Linked DNA regions of Homo sapiens: region 2 is linked to region 1. Evidence: promoter capture Hi-C in 16 types of primary human blood cells and fetal thymus (Javierre and others, 2016). All regions are on one chromosome and are shown on one strand. Each heading gives the region's core, a stretch centred on a gene start or on the middle of the fragment in contact. The rest is flanking DNA. Distances are from core to core; before and after follow the strand shown.

Region 1 (5,353 bases), core at 1,998-4,497:
AGCCCCTTCTCAGTGCGGTATCTGAATGTGTCTGAATGACCCTGGTCCATGCCTTGACAAGGAGGAACATTGCTGTGATCTGGCAGGAGCTTTCCACTGACTTCCACCTGGAACCTGCCATGGTGGCTGCATTTAGGGAGCGGGGCAGAAGCAGACACCAGGACCTGTGTGAGAGGCAGCTCAGCTCTGCTGGAGGCCATAGGGGGAACGTTGCTGGAGGGACATTACTCCTGGGTGACCCACTGGATGGGGGTGGGGGAAATTCTCCAACAAAGTTAACCTGGAATTGGTAGTTTTGACAACGTAGGTCACCAAAGAGAAGAAGAAAATAAGGCAAGTGTCTGGTGGGAGAAGACATTTTATTGTTCCTGGGGTCTCTGGAGGCCCATTGGTGGGGCTGGGTCACTGGCTGCCCCCGGAACAGGGCGCTGCTCCATGGCTCTGCTTGTGGTAGTCTGTGGCTATGTCTCCCAGCAAGGACAGAAACTCAGAAAAATCAATCTTCTTATCCTCATTCTTGTCCTTTTTCTCAAAGACATCGGCGAGGTAATTTGTGCCCTTTTTGTCCTGTGAAGAGAAAAACATACAAAATAGAAAAATTCAATCACAAACAAGTTTTGGGCTGGGAGGGAGAGGAGGAGGCAGAGATACAGACAAGTACCTAGATCTGCACAGGCATGGTGGCGGGGCTGAGAGCACAGGGTGAGTGGGTGAAGTTGGGGTGAGGACGTGAGTGTTATCCCTGGAGTTCTCTAGGGAGTCTTTTTGTCTCACACCTCAGGATGGGAGGCAGGTCCTGTCCCAAGGTGCTCTGTTAAGTGACCTTGGGGAGAGCAGTCCCCTGCCCCAGCCTCACTCTTTCCCGTCCCAGCCTCTAAGGGCACTGCCTACCTTAGTTCTACCCCAGGGCCTCAAAATTGGCCCTCATGCTTTTGTTCTCTTCTTTCTCTGGCCTCCTCTCCTTTCTTCTCCTTTTCCACCAAACTCATCTTCTGGGTATCCTACTCTTGGTCATCTAGACCCTTTGGTACCTAGTAGCCCACAGTTTTTTTTCAGATTTGCTAATGAGTCTTGTTTATTGCAAAGAGGGCTATTGATTTCTACTAACAATGGAACTTCTAGTGCTTTCCCAGTAATCTCAGGGATGTTGATGTGGGGCCTTTGGGAAACAGGACCTGAGCATGTGAGTTTCAGTCTCACAGAGAGAGGGTCAGTGAGTGCTGGGAGGGGACTGTGCACTGCCCTCAAGCTGCACACTTTGCTGACCATCTAATAACCTCCTTTATATCTGTATAACTCTTTCCCATTTTCATACTTTTTTGCCTACCATCCTTAGATTCACATATGATCCAAGTAATAAAGCCCTATTTGCAAATGGGAAATTTTTTAATCAGAGGGTGAGGGTGATCTGTCCAAGGCCACATAGCAAAATGTATCCTCCAACATTGAGAAGCTAGACACCGACTCACACAGGCACTAAGGAAGTTGGGGAAGTTCTCCTTCATCATCGTCAGCAGGCTTGGCTTCTCAATCTTGTCATCACGTCTGGTGTATTTGTGAAACATGTCGATCATGCCTATTATGGACCTCTCAGCTTGAGTGTTGCTCATCTTTGCTTTCAAAAAGCCTTCAGGAAATAAAGACAATCATTTTTTTCCCTTCATTTAAGTTAGGGTCTCTATTTGGGAGTGCTGGAAGGAGGGCTGAGGACAGAGTAAAAACACGGATAAGGTGTAGCAGAACGAACTCAATTTTTTTTTAATGTGATGGGATAAGTTGCTCAAAAATGAGAGGGTAGGACCAAGTCTGAGACCTGGCCCATCCTGGCCAGGGCCAAGAGGAGATGCAGGTGGATGGCGGAAGTCCAGCTGTGGACAGTGCTTCAGAGAGGGAGAAGCAGGGAGAGTCGGGCGCCAGCAACACATGGAAGAACTAAGCTGGGACACCCCAGCCTCAGCCAGCACATGGCAGACCCCACTCTTAAAAGAGCACCAAATCCATCTCCTCCAGCTTCACAGTCGGGGTGACAGTCATGGGGGCAGGACAATGGCCTTGGTGATCTGGTGTCTGACCCTCCTCGGCTGCTTCAGGAACCAGACACCGTGGGCCCCACCTTGACTCAAGTGCAAGCCCTGCATGACACGGTGTGTGCAGGCTCCAGGTGCACATGTGAGCGTGGACGTGAGTGTTAGCAGGAAACACAGTCCTGTCCCGAGCACAGGGGGCCCTTCTTGTATTCCCTTGGGAACGAGAAACAGGAATGGCCTCTGTTACAAGGAACAGAAATAACTCTCTGGTTCTTAAGCTGCTGGACGGGGTGGGAGTGAGGTGGGAGTCACTTCATGTCTGCTCTTGGGAATTATCTGCACCCTCTGAATCACCAAGCCTTGACTGTTTAAATAAAAATGTCTGACTTCCCAAAGCAGATCTTTCAGCCAGTAGTCAGTCTGGGCTGGCCTGCACCCCAAGCCTGAAAAATAGGACAGTGCAGTTCTCACTTCCCACACTTTCCAAAGAACCAGGAAAGGACCTTGGCTAATGCATATGGGTGTCTGACAATAAACCCCCAACACCTCTCAATGCAGGAGAAAGCTCCATGCCGGCAACTGACTAAGAGGAGCCACCCAGAGCTTTTTTGAATCTGAGGCCAAGGCCAGAGGGCAAGCCCTGTGCCCAGAGGGTGACTGACAATTTGCAGGTTGTGGTAGGGAGTGACGGAGCGTTGGTTTCTCAATACCTTACCCAGGTAGGGGCAAGCCATCTGGCCAGGGCTATGCTGTGTCGGGGTCCCAGGCCTGGGGGTTTGGAGAGCCTCCAAAGCATTCACAGGGGACCCCTAGCCCTCCACCCTCTGTGGAGCTGGAGCTGGGGAGGGGATTTAGCAACCGGGACCCCAACAGGAGGATGAATCCAGGGAGGAAGAGGACAGGGAGGGTCCTGTGCTCAGGTCCCACTGGGGACATTTCCACAGGAGTTGCCTCAGGAGATCCCAAAGGAGCAATGGACAGGTCTGGTTCAGCCACCTGGTTATACAGACGTGGGCTTTTGGGGTCAAGTGAAGGTCACACAGCCCAGCTAATGGCAGAGCTGGCCTAGACCCAGGCTTCTGAGTCTTTGTCCACAGCCCTTTCCCTTCCTACAGGCAGCATGGCAGGCCAGGCACTGGGCACTTCTAGAAAACGCAAAGAGGCAGGTGAGACTTACCAGAGCTGGGAAGCGTCACGAGTAGAAGGATGAGTGAGATGTGTGTGTTTGGACAAAGAGCAGTCCTTTATAAGGCTCAGCCTGGCTCTTCCCAGGGGCTGGGAGGCCTGGGGCCACCTCTGTCATCTGTTTCTTGGAGGCTTGCCCCACATCAGGTGGGTGGGACACACCCAGGAGGCTGTGCTCAGGATTTCTGGCCAGTGTCCCAGGTCACCAGGTCCCACCCCACCCCAGAGACCTCACCTGGAGTCTTCTCTGGCTCAACCTTGATTTGAGGGTAAGGCAGCGGTACATGTGTAGTAGCAGGTCAGAAAATGGGAGAAAAGAGCACTGGGCCTCTGGACCCAAAGAGGATGGAGTTTCAGACTCCTGAAGGCAGCATGGTCTTGTTTGTTCCCTCCCCTTATCCTTCCACACATTTGTTATGACAGCCTGTTCTATGACCCCCACCGCTGACTGAGCATTTTAATGTCTAGATATCAAGATACCTGCTGCTCCTGCATCCTCCTCAACCCTCATAGTCCTAAGAGGTGCTTCAATCTCTATTTTAGGAAAGGAGAAGTTGAGATGTTCCCAAGTTTACTCAGCTAGTAAACACAACAAATCATTATATGGACTCAGAAAAGCCTGAATCAAATCCTTACTCTTATCCCCTGTGCTATAGGTCTTGGGTCACATCAGGGTCTGCCCTATGGGAACTCAAAGTCCAGGGAGGGAAGCAGGGTTACTTCATTGCTAACCATTGGTCAGCCCCTCACAGAAGCCCTGGAATTAGGTGGGGGGACTGGGGTCAGGGGCCTCACTATCTAGGTTGAGTGGTGGAGTGACCCCCCCATGGAATGAGCCTGGAGGCAGGGAGTGGGAAAAGTTCTTTCCTGCCCCATGGCACTAACTTCCCAGAAAGTCTTCAGTGTTTTTCCTCCTCCTATGCAAAACAGCCTGTGTAGGAGTTGGGAGTTGTGCCCTTGGCTATAATGTGCCCTAACCTGCTGTGGAAAGGCTGACCCAGGTAGGGGCAAGAGGGTTGGGAAGGCATGGGAATCCCTGGGGCATGGTGAGGAAAGGGAGATGATGAATCACTGAAATGGACTTTTTCTGCTACCCCCTTGCAATGTTCCTTTTAGGGTGCAAGAGAGTTCCAGGTTCATTTAGTGCCAGCCCTTTAAGCACTCTGGGGCTCCACAGAGCTGATGTGATGTCTCCCTAGGTGGGACCTATTTTCTCCACCCATCATCTTTCTTCAACTTCCTTCTCGTCAGTACCTATGTAACCAGGGGGACCTGTTTCTCCCTCTCCCAGTTCCCCATGTGATGGCAATATTACTTTTAACAGCAAAAGATACATACACACACACACAGTGGAATGCTACTCAGCTATAAAAAAAGAATGAAATCACGCTTTTTGCGGCAACATGGATGGAACTGGAGGCTATTATCTTAAGTGAAATTACTCAGAAAGTCAAATACTGTGCAACCTCATGTGTAAGTGGGAGCTACATCATGCATACAGATGGAGGTAGAGAGTAGAATCATAGACACTGGAGACTGTGAAGGGCAGCAGGTGAGGCGGTGGGTGAAGGATGAGACATTTCTTAGTGGGTACAATGCATGCTATTTAGGATGGCTTCATTAAAAGCCCAGACTTCACCATTGTGCCATATATTCATATATATGTGTATGCAGGTTTTTGTGTGGACATAAGTTTTCACTTCTTTTGGGTAAATCCCAAGGAGTGTGATTTCTGGATCCTATGGTAAGAGTATGTTTAGTTTTTTAAGAAAGCACTAAACTGTCTTCCAAAGTGGCTGTACTATTTTGTGTTCCTGCCATCAATGAATGAGAGTTCCTGTTGCTCCACATCCTTCTTCAGCATTTGCTGTTGTCCAGTGTTCCAGATTTTGGGCATTCTCATAAGTGTGTACTGGTATCTCATTGTTGTTTTAATTTGCATTTCCTTGAGGACATATGATGTGGAGCATCTTCTGATATGCTTATTTGTCACCTTCTGTATCTTCTTTGATGAGATATCTGTTAAGGTCTTTGGCCCATTTTCTAATTGTTTGGTTTGTGTTCTTATCGTTGAGTTTTAAGAGTTCTTTGTATGTTTTGGATAACATACAAAGTCTGATATGTCTTTTGTAAACATTTTC
Region 2 (5,353 bases), core at 277-2,776, 85 kb before region 1:
TTGGAGAATCCAGTGTAACAAAACAGAGAACACAATGGTCATGAACCACCCTGGAATTAACAAGGCTTGACCTGGAAGGTACTCTTCTGCTCACTCATTCAACCCCTCCCGTGCCCTGCCTCTCTCCATTTTACATATGAGGAAACAGACTCAGAGAGAGGAACTGAGTAGAGCCTTAAGTGAGTTATTGAGAGAGGGAAGCAAAGGACCTCTCCCACAGCAGCGGGGAGAGCATCCTTTGGGAGCTCAAACTGGGGCCAACCCCACCCCAGTCCTTGTCCCACCATCCTCTGCCAGGCCTTGCCACTCCCCTCAGTGCAGGGTCATGGGCAAGTTTGCAGTGAGAGGGGCATCACCTACCTTGATGGTGTTTGCAAGCTCCTTTGTAAGCAGCTGCTTCAGCTCACCCTTAGAGAGGGTGTCAAAATGCCCCTTCCGAACTGAGTATTGGTGGAAGATATTGACAATTCCCTCCAGATGCTCTTCAAGTTTTGTCATCTTCCCAGCCTAATGTTAACCTTCAAGGAAACAAGGGAAGTCTAGAGGCAGTTTCTCCCCCACCCCTCAACCTCCACTCTCCCCTCTCTTTCTGAATCAAGGGCCTAAAGAAAACATAACATCCTCCATATCTATTTTGTGGTCTCTGCTCTGTTTGATCCATGGTGAACTTCTCATGTGTGGATAGGATGGGGAGGAGAAAACATATAATACTGTCTAACGTCTAAAAAAATCAGCCTCAGTTGCCCATGTTCCATACCACCTCATCCACCGGGGTGCATAACTTGGAGGGTATTGCTTACTCAAGGTCCCTTGGGAAGGGTTCTGTGATTGGCCAGGCTGTTTGCTTTCCTCAGGTGATGGCACTATGGCCACATATCCCCCACAAATGGTCCATAACCCACCCCTGCTTAGCCATTCTTTTTTTGTTGTTGTTGTTTTGGGTTTTTTGTTTGTTTGTTTGTTTGTTTTTGAGACGGAGTCTCACTCTGCCGCCCAGGCTGGAGTGCAGTAGGGCGATCTCGGCTCACTGCAAGTTCTGCCTCCCGGGTTCACGCCATTCTCCTGCCCCAGCCTCCCGAGTAGCTGGGACTACAGGCACCCGCCACCACGCCCGGCTAATTTTTTGTATTTTTTTAGTAGAGACGGGGTTTCACCATGTTAGCCAGGATGGTCTCGATCTCCTCACCTCATGATCCGCCCGCCTCGGCCTCCCAAAGTGCTGGGATTACAGGCGTGAGCCACCGTACCCGGCCTGCTTAGCCATTCTTAAATCATGGGACTGAGTCTACATAGCACAACAAGAGCTGATCTACTTGGGTCCAAAATGCAATATCACCCCAGAGGTGCTCAGGCAAGTGGAGGGTTGTGGTTTCCAACACCTTGTGATTTCAAAGTGGTCACCTGCAGTCACTACCCTGTGGACCACCTAAGAACCCATCCAAGGAAAATGCACTTACCCCTCAATGCACAGGAATGTGGAGCTACAGCAAAAAGCCAGCAGTGGTGAAGGGCACTGAGCCAAGGAAGGTTTTATAATCAGTTCAGGCTTCATCTTAGCCCTTGGGTGAAGAAATCTCTGATTCATCTTGAGGCAATTTATGTAAAGTACTCTGTTGCTCAATAGAAGCTTCAAACCTGTGGCTTAGGCTGCCACAGGAGCAGCCCAGATTGTACCCAGACTGAATTTTGCCCTCCTGCTCAGCCTGAAACAAAATCACCCCCACTCCACCCACCCGCACAGGGGTGCCCTGAACCTTTTTTAGCCCTGAGCCAGGGCCCAGGTTTCAGGTTTAGCTCTACTCCACTGCTCCCTAATAAAAGACTAGGAGAACAAACTTTACAGCCTGAGTGTCTTGTTTTAACAGATGAGGTTACCAGCTCTTCAGTTTTGGCAAATGGAATATCAACTTAAAGATCTTTATGCAGCTAAGGAGATAGGTAGGGAGACCTCCTCCTAAGTCGTTCTGGGATGCAAAGTTCATCACTGGAGCAGAGGATCAGTTTTCAAAATAGATTCCAAGGTTTTCAAAAAAGGAGAGAGCAATGCTACTATGCCTCCCCTTTGCTTTCCCAACTTTCTAACTTGGCTGTTACAAAGACCTAGAAAGCTGGAGTAGGGTAATCATTGTGTGTGAAGAAAGTTCACCATGCCTAGGTTACTTTACCATGTTCATGAGTTCAGTAAGACAGAACATTCACACGAGTTTTAGTAAAGCAACTTTATTACTCACAGAGAGGCAGCAAGGGACAACAGATGCCCAGGATTCATGGAGAGGTGGTCCTTCAAGATTCAGAAACCTGCCCAAAATGGATTAAGTCTCATCTGTACATTCCCCATGTCGCACCAAAGCTAAGGGACATCCAAAAGCACTCTGCCCTTGGTTTATGCCTAGAGGTCAATAAGATTGCTGAGCAATCAAGGCCATGCCAGAACCTGTGCTGCCATCTACCCCACAACACAGATATCCCCCTTAGCAAAGCTAGTTCATTTCATGTGCCCACCGACCTCTCTGGATCTGGAGGCAAAAGTCTGTCTCTCCGATCCATGTGTCACCTTGACTGACACAATCTCAGTGCAACATTGTTAAGCCATTGACAGTATTTGTTTCACTAGGCCCAGGAGGACACCACCAGAGCAGGATGATCAGGCTTGTGTAAATCAATGACAATGACCAAGGTGAATCTCAATCATTTTAGGAGGTTTATTTGGCCAAAGTTAAGGATGCGTGCCCAGAGGTAGGTCTACGTCTTTCTCCAAAGATGATTTTGAGGGCTTCAATATTTGAAGGAGAAACAGTGGATATTGGGGGAAGAGGAAGAAATATTTTTTAAATGTGTCAGTAGATAAGAGACAAGTGATTGCATCCTTTTGAGTCTTTGATCAATCTTTCACTGAATACACAATTTTCATGTGGGAGCGGAGTAGAGGAAATAGTCACTTATGCCTTCATCTGGCTCAGTGAATCTGCATTTTTACATAAGATAACAAAAATAGGGGAGAGGAAGCAATCAGATATGGATTTGTCTTGGGTGAGCAGAGGGATGACTTTATGTTCTGCCCTTTGTCCCACACCTGTGAAGATAAGCTGTCAATTACACTGCCAGGGTGAAATTCAATAGAACTGTTTTAGGGTAAAGATCTTGAGGCTCACAAGGAATTTCCTTGTGGGCAAGTTGTGAGATTGGTGTATGGCTTTTTATCTTTGTAGCTATCTTATTTAGAAACCAACCTGGGTGGGGGCAGGCTTGCATGACCCATTTCCCAGCTTGACTTTTCCCTCTGGCTTAGTAAGTTTGGGATCCTGAGATGTTTTTTTTTTTTCACATCTGCCTGGAGAAGGGACTAGCCCAGGATCCCAGCCATCCAGGCAAGAGGTTGCTAAATGCGGATCACGAGGTCAGGAGATCGAGACCATCCTGGCTAAGATGGTGAAACCCCATCTCTACTAAAAATACAAAAAATTAGCCAGGCATGGTGGCAGGCACCTGTAGTCCCAGATACTCAGGAGGCTGAGGCAGGAGAATGGCGTGAACCCACAAGGCGGAGCTTGCAGTGAACCGAGATCGCGCCACTGCACTCCAGCCTGGGCAACAGAGTGAGACTCCCTCTCAAAAAAAAAAAATAGAAATCAAAAAAGCAGGAACACAGCCTCACATACAAATATTAACCTCCAATGTGAATGGCCTAAACACTGCACTTAAAACACATACCTTGGCAAATTCGATTTAAAAACAAGACCCATCCTTCTGCTGTCTTCAAGCACCTGTCTCATGTGTAATGACACCTGTAGATTCAAAGTAAAGGGATGGAGAAAGATCTATCATGCAAACAGAAAACAAAAAAGAGCAGAGGTTGCTATTCTTGAATCAGATCCGATAGACTGTAAGCCAACAACAGTAAAAAAGGATAAAGAAGGGCATTACATAGTGATAAAGGGTTCGATTTAACAAGAAAATTTAACCATCCTAAATAAATACACACCCAACACTGGAGCACCCAGATTTATAAAATAAGTACTTCTGCATCTAAGAAAAGATTTTGGCAGCCACACAATAATAGCAGGGGACAACACCCCACTGACATCAGTAGACAAATCATCAAGGCAGAAAACTAACAAAGAAATTATGGACTTAAATTTGACACTTGACCAATTAGACTTAATAGACATCTATAGAACAATGCACCCAACAACCACAGAATATATATTATTTTCATCTGCACATGGAACATACTCTAAGATCAACCACATGCTCAGTCATAAGGCAAATCTCAATAAATTCAAAAAAATCAAAATCATACCAAGAATCTTGGACCGCAGTGGAATAAAAATAGAAATCAATACCAAGAGGAACTCTCAAAACCACACAAATAAATGGAAACTAAACAACTTGTTCCTGACTTTTGGTTAAACAACAAAATTAAGGCAGAAATCAAAAAATTCTTTGAAACATACAAAAATAGAGACACAACACAACATATCAAAACATCTGGAATGTAGCAAAAGTAGTGTTAAGAGGGAATTTTTTTTTTCATCTTGGATGTGGGCGAATCTCATTTTAATTGCAAAAGACTTCATTCACAGCACATTCAATAATGGACCAACAGGAGAGTTGCTGGCTTTTGAACATATGAATATATAAAAATACCTTGCAACTTAGGTAGTCAAGATAATAAGTGCATAAAAGGAAAGCAATCCTCATTTTTCTGAAAACTTTTACATTTTAAAAGGTGACTAGGCATACTTGGAAGTTCAAAGCTGTAGAATGTACCTTGCAGGGGAAGAAGGAGGAAAATCCTTTCCATGTTTTTAGGTAAATATATAACAAATATATCCCAATTCCACTTGATAAAGTCAGTTGCATGACTTCCTTGAACCAGGCTAGGGCAGAACACTCAGTAAAAGCAGGCCCTGGGTGGGGATGTGAATCCTGAAGAGGAGCACCAGATCCCACGCAGCACTAAACACATCAGTTTTACCCTCTAACATAGATGAGGCACGCCGCCCCATGACCCTGGACAGGGGATGCAGGAGAACAGACATCAGGTGGTTACTGCTCCCACTGCCTGGTGCTTTCCAATGGTTTTAAGTCAGGCCATGGAGAAAATCCTTTACCACCAAACACAAACTGCCATTGAACTTGTCATAAAGGATGTTATGGGGGAAATTCTTGAAACACATACATAAGGACTTCTATTTACCTAATTAGAAAAATGATTACAGAATTGGCATTCCTGTTTTCGTAAGATTTTGTTCTCTACATTGGAAAGGTTTAAGAAAAGTTGTCTATTTTTGGTTTTATTTTACACTTTCAAAAGAGAGGGAACAGAGAGAAACGTATGACTAACTGCCCA

The links. Contacts are between HindIII fragments. The CHiCAGO score rates a contact against its expected background, and 5 or more counts as called.
Region 2: the fragment with the promoter of S100A12 here is called in contact with the fragment with the promoter of S100A7 in region 1 in 5 of 17 cell types (naive CD8 T cells, total CD8 T cells, naive CD4 T cells and 2 more); the score reaches 7.2 in naive CD8 T cells.

Annotation. Positions count from the first base shown.
Region 1 is chr1:153,457,404-153,462,756 of GRCh38, forward strand. It overlaps S100A7 (S100 calcium binding protein A7), which reads right to left and starts at 3,248. Exons shown (of 3, transcript NM_002963.4): 1 at 3,205-3,248; 2 at 1,470-1,627; 3 at 341-567. The coding sequence starts at 1,610. The coding sequence ends at 403. The HindIII fragment of the contact is 9,190 bases long and covers 1-5,353 here.
Region 2 is chr1:153,374,095-153,379,447 of GRCh38, forward strand. It overlaps S100A12 (S100 calcium binding protein A12), which reads right to left and starts at 1,527. Exons shown (of 3, transcript NM_005621.2): 1 at 1,458-1,527; 2 at 361-518. The coding sequence starts at 498. The HindIII fragment of the contact is 5,829 bases long and covers 1-1,625 here.